2 separate regions of the Homo sapiens genome follow, and region 1 is linked to region 2. Evidence: promoter capture Hi-C in human tissues and cell types (Jung and others, 2019). All regions are on one chromosome and are shown on one strand. The core of a region is centred on a gene start or on the middle of the fragment in contact, and the rest is flanking DNA. Distances in the headings are between cores, read along the strand shown.

Region 1 (2,700 bases), core at 201-2,700, 170 kb after region 2:
ACTACAGTATTCAGTTCAGTAACATGCTGCATAGGTTTGTGGTCTAGGAGCAACAGGCTATACCACCATGGTGTGTAGAAGGCTGTATCATCTTGTGTAAGTGCAGCCTATGATGTTCACACAATGACAAAATCACCAAACAATGAATTTCTCAGAACATATTCCTTTGGTTAAGCAACACATGACTGTATTACTAATATGTTATTTGTCTTTTCCACTCTCATTTTGTCATGAGTGATTGAGGGGGGTTTGCAAAGCCTGCATTATGTATGACATCACAACAGATTGAATGCAAAAGCAGATAGAAGAATCCAGTTTTATTCTATTAACCTAGACATTAAAGAGATTTGCAAAGGCCAGGCGCAGTGGATCACACCTGTAATCCCAGCACTTTGGGAGGCCGAGGCAGGTGGATCACGAGGTCAGGAGTTCGAGACCAGCCTGACCAACATGGTGAAACCCCATCTCCACTAAAAATACAAAAATTAGCCAGGCATGGTGGTGCGTGCCTGTAATCCCAGCTACTCAGGAGGCTGTGGCAGGAGAATCGCTTGAACCTGGGAGACGAAGGTGGCAGTGAGCCAAGATCGTGCCACTGCACTCCAGCCTGGGGACAGAGCAAGGCTCCATCTCAAAAAAAAAGAGATTTGCAAAACTGTGAAACAATGCTACCCTTCTCACTAAATTTTTTGTTTAAAAAATGTAGTTTTGTAAAGAAAATTTATTTTACTATCTAATGGGTGTATTATTGATATTATTTAAATGAATTAATAAATAATTGTTTTAAGTTATCAGTTTTAATTTTGAATATAGAAAATATCAATACCTACAACCCACATAAGGAAACACTCTTTGGGGTCTCCAGTTATTTTTAGGAGTATGAAGGAGTCCTGAGACCAAAAGTTTTGAGGACTGCTGACCAAGGCTAAAAGGTTTAGAATTAACCAAATATTAGATAGTTATGCAACTTCCAACTCTGAAATTCTAAAAGATCAATGGTCAATTCTTGCCCATTTTAAAAAAACTATTATTCATCAGGCATTATTGATTCAAAACTAATTGTTTATAATAACTAAGAGGGATGTGTTTTTCAGATTGTTCTGAGGCTCTCTCTACATTTTTTAAATTACTATGTTATTACTTCCCCCAATAGTTATTACATATCAAGAAATTATATTAAGCATCTTAAATATGTAAACTCATTTACTCTTCATAACAACCAGATTAAGTAGGCAGCACAGATTTCCCTATTGTATATGGGAGAGAGCTAAGGATTAGTATGCTAAAGTGACTTGCCAAAGGTCATCTTGCTGATAAATGGTGGAACAGGGATTTCTTTTAACTAAAGTTTAGTCAATTTCAGTACCAGGGTCTATTTCCACCATCTTATCTTATTGTCTTTCAAGCTAGTATTATTGACTTTTAATGCCATTCATTATGATGTATTTTAATTTCTTATGTATGGTCATCATTTGCCTTTAGACCAATACCGTATACAAACGCTGACTGAACTGAATGTCCTAGCATCATGTTTGACCATGGAAGCATGGGTCCAGCTAATGGCATTTAATCATTCATTCATTCATTTGTTCATTCCATAAATATGTATTGAGTGCTACAACCTACCAGATGCTGATCTGTTTTGTTCAAACAGAGCGGACAATAAGCTCCACTTGCTTAGAGAGCTTACATTCTCATCAGGTAAGATAAATAATAAATACTACACAAAAGATAATAAATATACAAATCATATGGGGTGCTGGAAGTTATAAATTCTGAGGAATTCACAGAGCAGGCTAAAGAGAACTATTTTCGTGTGCAGGCAGGGCATGGCGGGGTCAACAACAGGGAGCCTGCGGGTTGAGTGGCATGAGTGAGGAGGAGAACAGGAGGAGACGAAGTCAGAATCACAGGGAAGCAGTGAACCTGCTGCCTCACACCCATAGGAAGAAAGGCCTTGAGCGAAAGGAATAGGATTTGTAGATGGCAGATGACATGGTATCACTTACATTTTGTAAGGATCACCTGGCTTCCCTGTTGAGAATACTGTGGACAAAGGTGGCAATTTAGGAGACAGTTTAGGGAGTTAATGCCAAAATCCAGGGGAGGCATGATGATTTGGCTTGGAGCAGGATTTAAATTCAGGGCCAGGGGTTTTATTTCACAAGTGGTGAGAAGGAAAGTAGTGAGAAGTGGTTGGATTCTGGATACATTTGAGAGGTAGAAGCTGTGAAACCAAGTTTCACCAAGGGACAACTCTAGGTATCATAGAGCAATTGATTATTACTAAAGTCATCCTTGTATCATGTCATCTACCCTAAAATGAAAGTGAAATGACTACTTTCTATTTATATTGTTTTATTTCTAGAATGCTTTGCTTAGAATCCCTTAAAAGTTGCAGGTATGAAAACTCTAGGAGCTGGTTAATAGCTGTCAATGAGTCATTACTACATTATTCATGGATTAAAATGAATATGTGGCTTAGGGCGATTGAGCTCGACTTAAATGACTACCAACAAGTGATTGACAAATGATTTAGGAGACTTCAGTCTGATAAAACGTTTTCCTAAGACTTTAAATTGACTTCTCAGCAATTTTTGCAGCTACTCAAATCCAAGTAAAATTGTTAGCCCTGTCTAGAGAAAGGTCAATTGCTCAAGGTCAAAGGCAAGTAAATACATAATTTAATTGTTCTTGTTT
Region 2 (2,700 bases), core at 65-2,564:
CGACCGAAGGGCTGCAGGTGGAGCAGACCCGGACGTCTCCGCGAGGCGGCCATCGAAGGAGAGCCTGGGGCTTTCGGCGCGGGCGCCCAGGAGGGAGCTGGGGTCCCCGGGAGGTGGGGGGCACTCTTGGATAGGCAAGACGAGGGCGCACCGGGCGAGGCGAGCGGCCGGGGTCTGCGCCCAAGGGGCGGGTCGGACCCCACCTGCCTTTTGCCAACGAGGAAACTAACCGCCGCCAGCACCACCCCTCCCCGGGAGCCGCAGGTGGTGGTAGACGAGTTCTCCCAGCTCCCAGGTCGAGGCTGCGACTCCACACTGGGGAACGAGGATCGCGGGGACCTGGAGAGGGGCCGGGGCCAGGCTGGCGGGCGCCGGCTTCAGTTTGAGACCTGCGCGGAGGGCGGAGGCGGGGAGGTCCTCTCAGAAAGCCGCCTGTCCCGCGGGGTCCGAGGGGAGGCTGTATTTTTGGGTTCCTTCCTCAGCTTCCCTAAACAGTGCAGTCTCGGCGGGTGGGCAGCGCCCGCCCCTCGGGTGCGCGCCAGGACCCCGTCGCGCCCTGGGAAGACAGCGCGGGGCGCACGTGCGGGACCCCGGCCCCAGGCGCCCACCAGCACCCGGCTTTCGCCCACTGACGCCGATCCTGCGCAGCTGGGCGGGGAAAGTGAGGGAAGAAAGTTGGGAGCGGTTCGGGGCGCCGGAGGTCCCGGCGGCCGTTCCCCGCCTGGCCTGCAGCCCGGTGTCCCACGCGTCTCCTCCTCCGCCCGCCCCAGACTCTCCCGGCCGAAGAACGAAACGTCCCGTTCCTCCCGCGGTCCCGGTCGGCGGCGCAGCTGATCTCAAGGAAACAGGAAAGGACGGGCGGGGGCGCGGGCGCCGAGCCGGTGCGCCGGTGCGCGGTTGGGCGGGCTGCGGGGTCCGGGGCGCGATCCGGGGGCGGCGCGGGAGCCGGCGAGACACGCCCTTACCTTTCTTTTCCTCCAGAGCCCGACTCGCCGGGCAGAGCGCAGCCAGCAGCGCCAGGAGCGCTGCCCCGGCCGTCCCGGAGGGTCGCATCGCTGCTCCCCGAAGAGCTCGCTCCGGCTCTCCCGATCAATACTGGACGGAGTCAGGGGGCCGTGCGCGGTGGTTGTGGCGTTGGCGGCGAGGCGGGGACTCGGGCGGACGCCGACGAGGTGGCCTGTCGTCCGGTCTGGGCGGCGGCGGCCGCCGGGGCTAGCTCGGGACTCCGGCCGCCTCGGCCGCGTCGGGCGCTCACACCGTGCGGGGGGCGGAGGCTGCTGCGGCCGCGCTGCGCCGGGGGCTGCCCGGACGTCTAGCTCGCGCGGGCCGAGGCGCGGGGAGGCAGGGCGGGAGGAGGAGGGACCAGGCGGCGGAGGAGGGATCGGGAGGAGCAGAGGAGGAGGAGAATGCGAGGAGGAGGGAGGAGAACCAGCAGCGGGGACCCAAGGCCAGCGGCCGCCGGAGGCGGTGGACAGCGGTGGCCCCCGCGGGACCTAGTCTCCGGCGGGAGTGGGGCGGCGCATGGGAGGGGAGCGGGTGCCCTGAGGAGTTAATTTCCGAGAGGGGCGTTCCCAGCACTGCCCCTCTGGACCCGGTCCCCGCGGACTTGCAGGCCCAGCCTATGTCCAGGTCGAGCCAAATCTGTGCCAGGGTCCCCTTCCCCCTTTCCCTTCTTTTGTTTTACAAAGCAAACTTGTACCAGCTTTAGACAGACTGGCCGAGCCTTAGAGCCAGCGTCGGATAATGGCACCGACGGGGAAACTGCTCCTTTATTCGGGTCCCCACCTCCCCTGCAGCACTACGGGACCCTCTCGGGGATCAGAGGCTGGCCTGGCAGCTGAGGAGGTCGCCGTGCCCGCGCGGCAGGGGTGCCAGGCGTCCGAGGTGGTGCTCTAAAGTCCGAGGGTCCTTCAGATCTTGTCAAGCACCCTCGAAATCATCTGAAATGAGGGCACCCAACTCCGGGTGCAGAGACAGGCCTCCTTAATGTTTATTGCAACCAGCCATGGGTACTTTGAAGCCAATGTGTGAAGCACATTACTTCGCAAAAGTGAAGCTCTTGGAATAAAGGCTTGACACAAACAGCCGTGGAGGTGCTTTTAGAGAGGCTAAGTGTCCCACTGCCCCTGTAGCTCCCGCAGGAGAAATGCCAGGGAAACTCGCGGAAGCTTTGGCCAAAAGAAACTGAGCTTTTTTGGGCTGCAGGAACTTGAGCTATATTCCTTTGGCAAGTCCACCCCATCCCCACTGTTCCTTCTCCTGCAGTAAAAATGTCCTCTAGGTCCATGTTACAGCCAGACCCCTCCTCTCTTCACGAGATTCACTAGGACCTTCAGGCCTGGTTCAACAACCCTGATCTCTCGGCTCTGTCAAAAATCACAATCCTGAAGTAAGTGAAGCTACAGACCTGCCCTTTGCTGTCTCTGAAGGGGAGCAACCTTACATCTTTCCTCCTCATCCAGCAAAATGTTTGTGCCTGGGTCTCGCACCCTGCAGCCTGAACGGTGGGGTTTTTCACCAGGGCAAGCGCAGACAGACACAGGTCTGCTCACTGCCCGCACAACCTGGAACTTCCCTGTGAATTAGGAGAAGTAATCTGTTCCTTTGTTTTAACAAATCAGTACAGCCACTGTGCGTTGAAGTCATGCCCTGAATGCAGAGGCCATGAAGGCTCTGCAGGCATGTGTGTGCTTCCTGCAC

Evidence for each region. Contacts are between HindIII fragments. The study calls those that stand out against the background at their distance.
Region 1: a fragment that was not itself captured here is called in contact with the fragment with the promoter of EGFR in region 2 in 1 of the 25 tissues and cell types used here (IMR-90 fibroblasts).

The regions. Positions count from the first base shown.
Region 1 is chr7:54,843,927-54,846,626 of GRCh38, reverse strand. No RefSeq gene overlaps it. Among named protein-coding and RNA genes, the nearest start is that of SEC61G-DT, 86 kb to the right of the region's middle. The HindIII fragment of the contact is 8,231 bases long and covers 1-2,700 here.
Region 2 is chr7:55,017,631-55,020,330 of GRCh38, reverse strand. It overlaps EGFR (epidermal growth factor receptor), which reads right to left and starts at 1,314. Exons shown (of 28, transcript NM_005228.5): 1 at 966-1,314. The coding sequence starts at 1,053. It overlaps LOC105375284 (a long non-coding RNA gene), which reads left to right and starts at 1,409. Exons shown (of 4, transcript XR_007060329.1): 1 at 1,409-2,700. RefSeq lists an enhancer at 1-314. The HindIII fragment of the contact is 5,592 bases long and covers 1-2,700 here.